2 separate regions of the Homo sapiens genome follow, and region 2 is linked to region 1. Evidence: promoter capture Hi-C in human tissues and cell types (Jung and others, 2019). All regions are on one chromosome and are shown on one strand. The core of a region is centred on a gene start or on the middle of the fragment in contact, and the rest is flanking DNA. Distances in the headings are between cores, read along the strand shown.

Region 1 (6,223 bases), core at 2,168-4,667:
ATAACCTATGCCTCATTTCCTGGATCTGAGTCTCTTCTTCAGCCTCTTGAACCTGGTGCCATCCCTTTTGGAGCTGAAAGAGTTGCAGCATGACACAATAGCATACTACGAAATTAAACTATATCGGGGCAGTTTTGAGGCAGTGGACAAAAGATTCATGTGAGAGGGGAACCTGTTAACAAGCTGAGCCTCTTTATCTCCCCATTCTCTGTCTAGGGATAATTCCTCAACTACAGTGGACAGAGCTGGAATCTGAGCCAAGCGGAGCAGTCATGCTGAGTTCAGGAAGCCTCACTGCTAAATGCCACCTATCAAAGTGGCCTCCCCTGACCATCCTGTGTAAAATAATCCCTCCTTCCTCTCTAGACTTTCTAGCGTCTTTACCCTACTTTTTTTTTTTTTTTTTTTTTTTTTAACAAATTAAATCTTGGGCTGGGCGTGGTGGCTCACGCCTGTAATCCCAGCACTTTGGGAGGCTGAAGCGGGCAGATCACGAAGTCAGGAGAGTGAAACCATCATGGCTAACAAGGTGAAACCCCGTGTCTACTAAAAGTACAAAAAAATTAGCTGGGTGTGGTGATGGACACTCGCAGTCCCAGCTACTCGGGAGGCTGAGGCAGAAGAATGGCCTGAACCCAGGAGGCGGAGCTTGCAGTGAGCAGAGATCACGCCACTGCACTCCAGCCTGGGCGACAGAGCAAGACACTGTCTCAAAAAAAAAAAAAAAAGATTCCAGATACTCTGGAGCTGTCATAGGATCAGGTATTTAATTTATGCCTGTAATTCCCATGGGTTCCTGGGGCAGGGGGGGAAGTGGTGGGGAGTCCTGAGGTGAGAGTGAGGGAAGGTCTGACCAAATCCAAGACCAGGACTAGATTCTGGACCTGGGCTCTGGGACAAACTGTCTTAGAAAACTCATGGGTGTCTTGGGAGATAGTTGCTTTATTCGGAGAATGGGCACAACAGAGCCTGATCAGGAGCCAAGACATCCGACCCACACACTCTGGTTTCTCTGAACTAGGACAGTCTGAGGCATAAAGCTTTTTCCCAGATTTTCGCACTAACATGCCCCTAAAACAGCAGAAAGGATGACATACTTTCTTGGGAGGTGGTTTAAAGAAAACAAAGAAACTGCCAAGTGACAGATTTATCCTAAGATTTCTTGGATCTCTTGACCACACCCCTTATTCTAGTATTACCAGGTATTTAGAACAATCTCCAGTCTAGAAAGAAACTTGCTCCAAGGAACAACTCAGAGAACGGCTTACAGGATTAAAGAAAACCTTAAATGGAAAAATTCACTTTTGACCAGGGACAACAATCAGTAAGTGCTAGCTGCTAGTCACAGAGGTAATGGTAAAAGTCCTAATAGTAGTATCTGTTAGCTTTTATTTTTATTATTGCTACTACCTAATCACAGAAATGGGAAACCAAAACTAGTTCCTCACACATTCTCCCTACTACCTAGTCCCCAAAACTTGCTCAGAGTCACCTGGGAAGAAAGAAATCACAGGCCCTGGGTTCCCCTCACACATATACCCACCTATGCAACTACAAAAACTGGGTCTCAACACACAGGCGGGTACACACACACAGAGTCAAAAACACTGGCTTTCCTTGGCCGGTCGCGGTGGCTCACGCCTGTAATCCCAGCACTTTGGGAGGCCGAGGCGGGCGGATCACGAGGTCAAGAGCCCACATGGTGAAACCCCGAATCTACTAAAAATACAAAAAACTTAGCCGGGCGTGGTGGCGGGCGCCTGTAGTCCCAGCTACTAGGGAGGATGAGGCAGAAGAATGGCTTGAACCTGGAGGCGGAGGTTGCAGTGAGCCGAGATCGCGCCACTGCACTCCAGCCTGGGCGACAGAGCGAGACTCCGTCCCAAATCAATCAATCAATCAATCAATCACTGGCTTCCCACACACACACAACACTCATCCACAAAAACTGGCTACGGCTCGAAACCTTAGTCGGATAGTATTTTAGGCTTTATGGGCCACAAGATCTCTGCTGCAAGTACTGAACCCTGCCATTGTGCAAAAGCAGTCATAGAATAGACGTAAATATACACAAGTATACATATTCAAAATGTGTGGTTCCCCACAGAGACGTACACACCGCAAAAACTGGGCTCTAGAGTCAACAGTAAATAGTTCAGGCTTTGTGGGGCCACACAGTACCTGTTCCCACCTACTCAACTCTGCCCTTCCGCAGAAGTGGATGCAGAAGCTAAACAAATGTCCAGAACATACACACATATTCAAAATCAGTGCCCCCCGCCACGTACAAAACCACAAAAATCGCCTCAGAGACACACGTATAAGAAAACACAAAGGTTCGTCCTCACACATGTTCAGGGTAACACAATGTGGGTCTCACCTACACAAACGCGCGATCAAAACCCGGGACCCGCACGCCCAGATGACCGGGACGAGGCCATACTTCACATCTTCTCTCACAGACTCACAATTACGCAACGGTCACCTCAAACGACTTTATGGCGGACACTCCCGGACCTTCCGCTGTCCGCCCCTCCTCGTCCCTTCTCCCCGCCGGGGTGAGCCTCATCCACCCAGTCTCAACCCCGACGCAGTCAGTCTCACTGCCAGCCCGCCGGCTACGCAGGCGCAACACCGCATGGAACAGCCCCCAGGGCGTGCAGGGGCCGTTGGGAAATGTAGTCCGAGCGCCACGCAAAGGACTGTGGGCCTCTTCGCAAAACGTGCAGGTGAGTCCCCACTGTTGGCCAAAAGAAACATCCCTCCGCTGCTCTCCCGGGTCAGTTCATCTCCGACCCGGACAGAGCAGAACCAGCGCAGCCCAAGCCTTCTTCACCTCACGTTCTGGGTGGGACTTTCCACAGCCTCGCTGCACCCCGGTGGATTCTGGAGGTCGCAGGATGACTGCGTAGTGCGCACGCGCGGGTGGGCGGTGTCCGCCTCCGCGGGTGAGGCCGGCTCCAAACCTCGTGAATGTGGGGGCGAAGGACGCTGGCTGGCTGGAGGCAATAAGCCCTCACACGGGAACGTGTGGTTGTGGGAGCGGGGAAGGCGGCGAATTGGGGAGGTTGGGTTTGGTTAAAGAGCTCGAGGAAGGGCCTCAGTGTCCACACGTGATCTCCTGAGAGGATGAAAAGCAGGGCCAGGCGCCAGTCCCCTAGGAGACCGGTGTGCGTGCCAGCCTCGGGGGTGTGCGCAGGCGCGGGACCTCGCGCGTCCGCCTGCACCAATCGTGCGAACGCGCTTGTGCGTGTGGCGCTGAGGGGTCGGGGCCTCAGGCCGGGGCTGGTGGTACTGTCCCCGAGAGGCGGGTGAGCGCACGCCGCGTGGCCTTGTTTGGGGGCGGGGCCACGCGCCCGCATGCGTGGTGCGTGTGTGAAGGGGGGTGCAGCGCGCGGTCCCGGGGTCCCGGAGGGGAGTGCGCAGGCGCTGAGTCCCTGCTCGGCTGTCTCGGTGGTCGCCGCCGGGGTCTGAGCCCGGGAAGACCGAGGTAAGGGGGCTGGCGAGAGTGTGGGTGTGTCTGAGGGCGTGGGCGGCGCGCCCGCCACTGCGTGGACGTTCCTGCCAAGGCGCGCGTGGGTTTGCGCATCCACGATGGCGTGGGCGTCTGCGCGGGTGCTTGCGTGGGCGGTGGGCTCGCGCCTGCGTGGGTTCTCGGCCCGCCACGGCGTGGGGTTTGCGCCCTTCGCTGCTGTGGTTCTCGGGGCTTGTGCGCCCAAGTGTGAAGTTGGCGCCGCGTGTGAGGCGAGCCGTGTGTGCCTGTGTGTGAGGGAGCTATGTCGGGACCGCGGATGTGTATCGCTGCGTGACCCACGCGAAGGAAACAATGGAGCCATTGGGAAGCCGGGAGTGGGTGTGTGACGCTGACTGTGAAGATTTGTGTTTCTGGAGTGTGTGCGTGTGTCAGTGTCAGGCTGATGTGGGCGTTTATTGTAGCCTTGGGTTACTGTGTGACTTGCCTGGGCGTCTGTCTGCCACTTAGCGTCAGTGGCTTTGCGGTTATGAGTGTGTGACTGTGCCTTTCTGGTGTATATCTCACTGTAACCATGGAAATGGAGGCCCACAGGGGAAGAATTCTTAGCAGCTCTAAGATGTGATGGGCTGCCCTGGAAATCTGTGGAACTGTTTAATTGTGCATGACTTTCCTCCTTGGTAAAATAGCATATTAATAGCACCTGCCTGGGTGTTATTGGGAAGATTAAATGGGATGACGTAGCTGAAACACCCTGCACAGAGCTTGTCACATACTAATCACCGTGTTTAGGTGTTGGTTATGGTGCTGGTGGTCGTTTTTCTTTGACCCTATACAGAGGCAGAGGTAGTGGTGAATACTGGAGGACTTTGCATCTCTGAGCTTCGGACTGGGCTATCTTTGTCCACATACCAGGGCATCTGACCATCTCCAGTTGAGCAGTGGTGCGCTGCCCCCGCCAACCACCTGCGTCGTCAGTTTTCTGCATGTGTACATTTGAGTGGAGGACAGAGCCCTCCACTGACGCTAAGTATGGTTGTGTCCCCTTCCTACCAAGGTAGCTTGGAAAAATAAGAGCATGGACTGTGGCGCCCCGCTGTCTGGTGTTGACTCCTGGTTTCACCACTGGCTGGCTGTGTGACTGAGAGAGCTTACTTAAGTCCACCACTCCTCGGTTCACTTGTAAAACAGTAGTAATAACAGAACCAACCTCAGGTTTATGGTGAGCATAAGTAGAACTTGGCACAAGGAAGTGCCACATCAATGATCATCGTTTTATTATTAGCATAATAACCGCAGGCGTCCCACACCTGGAGAATAAAATCCATAGGTAGAAATGCAAAAGGATGAGCCCCAGAGTAAGGGTTGCAGGTCCAGAGGTAAAATAACTTGGACGTCTAGATCAGGGCTTAGGTTCAGAATTGTGTAGGCAGGGTCCTGGGAGGGCAGCATTAGGGTAGAGGAGGTGGGGTCAGGAACAAAGGATCTTCCTGATGGAGATGTCCCTAGGGAGCCCATGGGGTCAAGAACAGAACTTTGAAGTGTCAGGGACTAAGGGATGTTTCCATATAACACATGGGTCTGGAAATGTTTCTGTCCAGACCAGTGTTTCACAGCCTTGGCACTGTGACATTTGGGGCCAGATAGTTTTTTGTTGGGAGGTGGGAGGGGCTGCTATTCTATGTATTATAGGATGTTGTGCAGCAACCCTGGGCTCTATTTACCAGGCCAGTAGCACACCGCGCCTCCCTCTGGGTTGTGACAAGCGAAAAAAAAATGTCTCCAGACACTGTCAGATGTCCCCTGCAGGGGCAAAATCACTCTGATTGAGAGGACCGTGATGCAAGCGCATGGACAGACCGAAGGCATGATGACAGGGAGAAGAGTAAGGGAGCTGGGGAAGGCGGGGCACGGAGAGATGATAAAAGGATAGTGTTCTGAGATGAGAAGAAACGGCCTGCAGCCCGGGTAAGCTCCGAGATGCATTCATTCATTCAGCCAGTGAGTGCCTACCATGGATTGGGCACTGTGCTAGTCTCTCAACAAAACAGGCAAGGTTTTTACTCAGCTGGAACTTGCATTTAGTAGGAGAGACAAAAATAAAGTCTATAATAGGTGCTGATAGGTACTTTGAAAAGTAAAGCAGGGTAAAGGGATTACAGGGTGTTTGGCAGGTGTTCTTTTTGGAGTCAACATCCAGGTCTCCCATGGGCATTTTGGTCAACTCCAGAGCCAGGAAGGACCACCAGCAGTGACCCTTTGGTATCACTTGATTGGGGAATCTAAGAGTTTGACTTTGATCTTAACCAAAGACTTTTCTCTTCACTGAGGTCTGGACTTCAACAGAAAGAGGTCAGATCTCTAGCCCTGTCCTTGAGACTCTGAGACTCGAACGTTATTCTAAACGATGCCTTCAATGTTACTCTCACCTTGGAATGCTTTATTTAAAAAAAGAAAAAAAAGGGCGGGTCAGACTCAATCCCCAGAGATTCTGATTTAATTGGTCTGGCATAGTGAACTGCCATCAGCTGTGACTATTTATTAGAAAGCTCCCAAGAGACTAATGTACGCACAGGGTTAAGAGCTACAGCTCTGAGTGCCTGCAGCTCAGGCTCCTTTGGGGCCTCTGGGAATGAGATAAATTGATTTGGAGGAGTCAGGGGGAGGATGCAAGTGACCTCTGCTTGGCTATCTTATCAAAAACAGTCCTCACAGCTGCACTTCCCTGCAGTAGGGGTATTCCTAGCCCCA
Region 2 (6,496 bases), core at 2,345-4,844, 1.5 Mb before region 1:
CTTTCAGCAGTTATTTAGCCCTTACTCAAAATCAGATAATTAACAATGAAGGAAACTCTAAACTCCCCTTATGGTCTACCAGTAATTCATACTTGAGGACCATGACTGTGGGGAATGAGGCATCTTTTAGCAAGAGCTCTCACCAATTGTAGATTGGTGTGAATTGCTAAGGGAAAAACCTTATGCAGAGAAAAGTTTTTGACTGGAAATACACTGTTTTGCATCAAGCTGGAGTACTGGATGGAAAACTCTACAATAACATTTTGTGCATAATTGTAGAAATACAGATTTTGTTGTTATAAGGGGAGGGTCTGGGTGCCCAGGAGTAGAATATGAAGTGCTAAATCTGAATGTAAGAAAAATAATAGTATTGAATGGGGTATTTACTGTTGATTAACCTCCTTAGAGAAAATTAATGAATGAGATGACTAACGGTAGAAAAGTTATTGCCTAGGAGTGTGAGACTGATGTTGCTGGACAGAAAGTGATCCTTAGCCCAGTGTGTCAGCGTCCATTGTTACTCATCACTGCATTGTTGGGCAATTAGTTTGTAATTTGTTTTAGGCAATCACTATAAATTATAATTATGGACACTGCATCAGTATACATAACATGAAGGAATAAAAAGGATACAGAATTGTATATACATACTTACTGTAACACATCTAAAAAAATGTATATGGGTAAGGACCTGAAAGATCCATGGAAAAGTTAACCCAGTTGAGATTTTTAAAAAGTTTTACAAATACATATAACACTTATGTGCTGGGCTTTCTTTTAAATGCTTTCCAAGTGTTAACTTGTTTAGTCCCCTTTACTCTGAGATAGGTACTGTTACCCCAGTTTTACAAATGGCTAAGCTGAAGCAGAGATGTTGAAGGATCCTACCTAAGGGGCACAACTAGTAAGGGAGTAGAGCTGAGATTGGCTCCAGAGTTCTTGTTTTCAGCCACCATTTTATGCTGCCTCTCCAGTGATTTTTTTTCCCATTTTCTTCAGTGTTTCTATAGCAGAGATTTGATAATAAAAAGAAAATCCTAAACAATGAGAAATAAAGTTACCTGGTTTCTCTGTCTCGAAGGATTTATAGTAACATGAGAACTAGTATCCCTTTGGAATATGAAGTCTGTGTTGGACATTCAGAATCACTGCATTTTCTGGGACCTGAGTTCCCTAGAACTTTGCTGCCTGCAACCCCAAGGATAACAGGGCAGCAGGGCCTGGAGGACTTGCTGGAGGACTGGGCAAGTCCCTTGGTGGGTTTAGAATGCCACTTACAGAGCAGAGGGCAGGGGTGTTTGTTCCTTTCCATAACTAGACACCACTGCACTTCAGAGCACCATTACCCAAGGTTTACCTTGAATTCGGTCTTTTATTTTTTTGAAATCTTCTGCAGATGAAAGGCTTACTTGAAGGAGCAGGATTCAGAAGGGAAGAGAGCTAGCCAGTCCACCTAGAGTAATGAAGTCTCAGTGTTCACAGGGGAAAAGGGGAAAGATGGATCAGAAGACTTGGGTGGCTTCTCTCCAGTTCATAAGTATTTCTAAAACTGGGGGCCAAGGATCCTTCCTGGATAGGCTTCAAGGGTATTGAGTGGAACTTGGGCTCATAAAGCTCATCTAATTTTTAAAGGGCCCATGGCTTCCCAGTGGTTGAGAAATGATGGCCTAGTGATGTCATTGGGAGGCTGTTATTTTCACCTTCTGACTCTTCTAGCTTGGGCTCACTTAGGTGTGTAACATTTGATTGTAGTCCTTTCAAGGCCTGACACATTAGTGGTCACCTGATAAATGTGGCAGGGGCAAGTTAGTTATTGATGGATTTTTTTTTTACATGATTTGTGCAAAGGCCCTTGGAGAGAATGAAGTTAGCAGTATTATCTCATCTTGGAGAAAGCAGCATAATATATCCAGAATCATACTACCAGTAGGATGTGGATATTGTATTCTAATAGCCAGAGTGAATCCAAATTATCTGATTTAGAGATTCCAAAGGATTTCATAAGTCATATGCAATATACCACAAGCATCCTGGTAACTTATAACCTTATTACTAAGATTATTATCTTGAAAAAATTTCTAGGCCGGGCACCGAGGCTCATGCCAGCATTTTGGGAGGGACAGGAGGATTGCTTGAGCTGAGGAGTTCAAGGCCAGCCTTGCAACGTAGCAAGATCCCATCTCTGTTTAAACAGATAAGAGTTTTTTTAATGTCTTAAAGGGCCTCCTGGCAGGGCACAGTGGCTCACTCCTGTCACCCCAGCACTTTGGGAGGCCAAGGTGGGTGAATCATGAGATCAGGAGTTCGAGACTGGCCTGGCCGCCAACATGGTGAAAGCCCATCTCTACTAAAAATACAAAAATTAGCTGGGTGTGGTGGCAGATGCCTGTAATCCCAGCGGTTCCAGAGGCTGAGGCAGGAGAATCGTTTGAACCCAGGAGGTGGAGGTTGCAGTGAGCCAAGATTGTGCCACTGCACTCCAGTGTGGGTGACAGGGCAAGACTCCATCTCAAAAAAAAAAAAAAAAAAAAAAAAGGGCCTCCTGTTGGTCAGGTCACATCACGAGTCAAAAGAAAGTCCCAGACTTCTGCTTCTTCCTGGAAGTATTCCCTTCCTCTCACCTATCATGCACAGCCTGGACAGTATTGATTTCAGTGGTCCCTAACATCCAGCACTCCCAGGTCCCCTCTGTCTCCCTCATACATGACATAGTTCATTGCCTTTTTTGAGCCCGTCTTCTATTCCTCCCATCTCTGAAGCCTAGGGCCCACTTTCAGTCATCAGGAGTCCCCCTTTACCTTCCTGCTGTGGGTCTCCCCTGTGCACATTGCCTCCCTTCTAAGGGTGACTGCTTTCCTTCCACTTTCTTTTCTTTCTTTCTTTGTGCAGTGGTACGATTTTGGCTCACTGCTACCTCTGCCTTCTGGGCTCAAGTGATCTTCCTGCCTCAGCCTCCCGAGTATCTGGGACTACAGGTACACGCCACCATGCCTGGCTAGTTTTTGTTTTTGTGTTTGTTGTTTTATTTTTTTGAGACAGAGTCTTGCTCTGTCGCCCAGGCTGGAGTGCAGTGGCATGATCTCAGCTCACTGCAACCTCCACCTCCTGGGTTCAAGTGATTCTCATGCCTCAGCCTCCCAAGTAGCTTGAACTACAGGTGTGCACCACCACGCCCAGCAAATTTTTGTATTTTTAGTAGAGATGGGCTTTCACTGTGTTGGCCAGGCTGGTCTTGAACTCCTGGCCTCAAGCGATCTGCCCACCTTGACCTCCTAAAGTGTTGGGATCATAGGCGTGAGCCACCGTGCCCATTCCTTTTTTCCTGAACATTTTCCAAGTGAGGTTGTTGGAAATCACGGATGGGGAACTATGCATGCGGAGGGCTGACTGTAATTGATTTCTTTCTGCCTCCTCACTAATCTGCACACTGCAGGCAGGGACCTGGTCTCATCATGCCTGCACCTCCAAGCACTGCCCTCTTACACTGTAGTCTCCCCATTGGTCAGCATGGTTCCATGAAGGAACTCCATTATCACAGCAAGGACTGACCTCACACTGGTGGCTCCAAGTCACTGCCCAAACATTCTGAAGGGAGTAGAACTTCTTGATTCCTCAGATAAATAGAGGACAGATGCTGGACTGTAGCTAAGTATTTCCTTTCATCTACGGGATAAAATACTGATAATTTGAGAGTGATGGACAAGGTTCAGAGTGGTTTCCTCATTTTGTTTTTGTTTTTAATGGAATGCCAACTTCATTTATGCTTGCCGTATGCAGATGGACTCCATCCCACTGGAAACATAACAGGCTTACCAGGTAGCTTCAACCACTGGTTTTATGTGACTCAGGGAGAATTGAAAAGCTGTTTCAGGGGAGATAAAAAGAAGGTAATTACATTTCACCGCAAAAAGTTTTCTTTTCAAGGCAGTAAACGGTCACAACCACCCAGAAACATCACCAAAGAGCCCAAAGTGTTCTTTCATAAAACCCAGTTGCCTGGGATTCAAGGGGCTGCCTCGAGATCCACGGGTGAGTCATTGAATTCCTCATTCAGTGGAGTGAGAATCGTAGCCTGGAGTCCTCTTATCTGCCATGTGAATGTGTACTGTGTGCTTGCTGGTAGAAAGGTCCATAAAATAGAGTATAATTAGATAAACATTTGCTTGGAAATTAGATCTTATGCTCTTCACTCTCTGTTAACTGCTTTCTCTTTAGGGATTGCCACTTTCTTCTCTTTTTCATTTCACTTTAATAAGCGCACACAAAAACCTTGATCCCATCCAGATTACACAGGTATGCCTGTCTGACTTGAATTTGGTGCACATTTGGCAGTAGAGCATGCAAGTCTAGACACAGAAGGTTTGTGAGTGTACAGAATTCTTTTTTTTCTTTTTTTTTTTTTTGAGACAGAGTCTTGCTCTGTCGCCCAGGCTGGAGTGCAGTGGCGCGATCTCGGCTCACTGCAAGCTCCACCTCCTGGGTTCACACCATTCTCCTGCCTCAGCCTCCCAAGTAGCTGGGACTACAGGCACCCGCCACCACGCCAAGCTAATTTTTTGTATTTTTAGTAGAGACAGGGTTTCACTGTGTTAGCCAGGATGGTCTTGATCTCCTGACCTCATGATCCGCCCGCCTCGGCCTCTCAAAGTGCTGGGATTACAGGCATGAGCCACCATGCCCAGCCGAGAATTCTTTATAAGCATTTTCTATGGTTCCCTTCTAATTTGAGTACTAGAGGATGTTTGTTTATCTTATAACAGCAAAACCAACCCCGACAATCTTTGAAGCTCAGCAACCCTTTGTGGAGATATATGATGCTTGTAAATAATCTCCATTCCATGCAAGGGAAATGCTGTCTGTGTGATACATTTGCATGTAATTTGTGTCCGAGGAAAGGACACTATTGTTGGTTCCCTGGCCTCTCTGCCTGGCTCTCTGATCCTTTTTTTTTTTTTTTTTTTTTTTTTTTTTTTTTTTTTTTTGAGACGGAGTCTCACTCTGTCACCCAGCTGGAGTGCAGTGGCGCAATCTCGGCTCACCACAACCTCCACCGCCGGGTTCAAGCAATTCTCCTGCCTCAGCCTCCTGAGTAGCTGGGACTACAGGCGCGTGCCACCATGCCCAGCTAATTTTTGTATTTTCAGTAGAGACGGGGTTTCACCATGTTGGTCAGGCTGGTCTCGAACTCCTGACCTCGTGATCTGCCTTCCTCGCTGGGATTACAGGCATGAGCCACTGTGCCCAACCCTTGCTGACCTTCTAATGAGGTCGTAGCCCCTTCAACTCTAAGTCTCTCCAGGTCCTTAATTTGGGCAGAGATTTCCCAACTTGTATGACTGCAAAAGGAGACCAGAAACCAAAAGTATCCTGTTCCTAAAGGTCATTCTTCATGACAGGAAGCACCAGGTGCAAAAAGAACAGCAGGCTCACCAGGCTTCTGCAAATTAACCCACACATTGCTGCCAGGCATTGGGAGGAATGTATTAACACATCCCATCTTAGATATTTGGAAGCTGTGTGTTCGGCGTCCTTCTCTAATGCTAAGTTATTTCCTTGTTTTCCCAAGTTCATCTTAAACCATCTTAAAGTCTCTTCTTTTTGATCCCCTTTGATGGCCTTTTAGCTGCATCCCCTACGAACCCCATGAAATTCCTGAGGAATAAAGGTAAGCCAAGGGATCTGGGAGGGCGGGTGGACCCGCAACATTCCTGAAGCTGTCGTGATGTGTGGCTCCAGAGGGTGCTGGCTGGTCACCAAGGAGCCTGCACACGTGGTGCCTTCATGTGTGTTAGACAAGGTGCCCCCTCTGGAGGGGGATGCGCAGTGACACCGCTTGGGGCAGGTGAGAAGGTGGCTCAACTCCACGGGCTGATGTTGTAGTGAGTAGAGCACAGGCTGTGTCTGAGATCTCTTTGTGGAACACACAAAATGCATGGGCACACACAGCGGCCCTGTCAGCAGCCTTTCTAGCAACTCTCCCCACTGTGGCTTGTCCTGGAACCTCCTCAACACCTCTCGCTTCAGAGTCCTCCAAAGCAGAAGGCACCTTGTGTCCTGCTGCTGCTCCCGCCCCAGAGCATCCTTCCTTCTCCTCTGCACATTTGCTAAGTGCCTGCAACAGGGCGGCTTCTGAGTCAGCTCCCCCACCACCTACCCATCTCCACTGCTTTCACATGTAGCCAGCATTTTATTTAATCACATATGCTGAGTGAGACATGCAGACACAGAAATGACTGTCATGAAGGAAGAAGCCTGATACTCACGGGTCCCTAGAAGCAGGAGTCCACACAAGGAAGCACCAGGGTCTATCAGAAGGCAAAGGGAGCCAGGAAAGTGTGAGCAAAAGCCTTTATTCTGGGCCGGGTGCGGTGGCTCATCCCTGTAATCCCAGCACTTAGGAAGGCCGAGGTGGATGAATCACTTGAGGTCACGAGTTCGAGACCAGCTTGGCTAACATGGTGAAACCCCATCTCTACTAAAAATACAAAAATTAGCC

What was found. The method cuts DNA at HindIII sites, captures the fragments that hold promoters and counts their contacts. A contact is called where the count stands out against the background at its distance.
Region 2: the fragment with the promoter of C19orf18 here is called in contact with the fragment with the promoter of ZNF667 in region 1 in 1 of the 25 tissues and cell types used here (dorsolateral prefrontal cortex).

The regions. Positions count from the first base shown.
Region 1 is chr19:56,474,539-56,480,761 of GRCh38, reverse strand. It overlaps ZNF667 (zinc finger protein 667), which reads left to right and starts at 3,417. Exons shown (of 7, transcript NM_001321356.2): 1 at 3,417-3,490. ZNF667-AS1 (ZNF667 antisense RNA 1) reads right to left here and starts at 2,888. Exons shown (of 2, transcript NR_036521.1): 1 at 2,381-2,888. The HindIII fragment of the contact is 11,770 bases long and covers 282-6,223 here.
Region 2 is chr19:57,971,632-57,978,127 of GRCh38, reverse strand. It overlaps C19orf18 (chromosome 19 open reading frame 18), which reads left to right and starts at 3,594. Exons shown (of 6, transcript NM_152474.5): 1 at 3,594-3,816; 2 at 3,925-4,029; 3 at 5,624-5,665. The coding sequence starts at 3,696. ZNF606 (zinc finger protein 606) reads left to right here. Exons shown (of 7, transcript NM_001348022.3): 7 at 1-1,052. The HindIII fragment of the contact is 10,862 bases long and covers 1-6,496 here.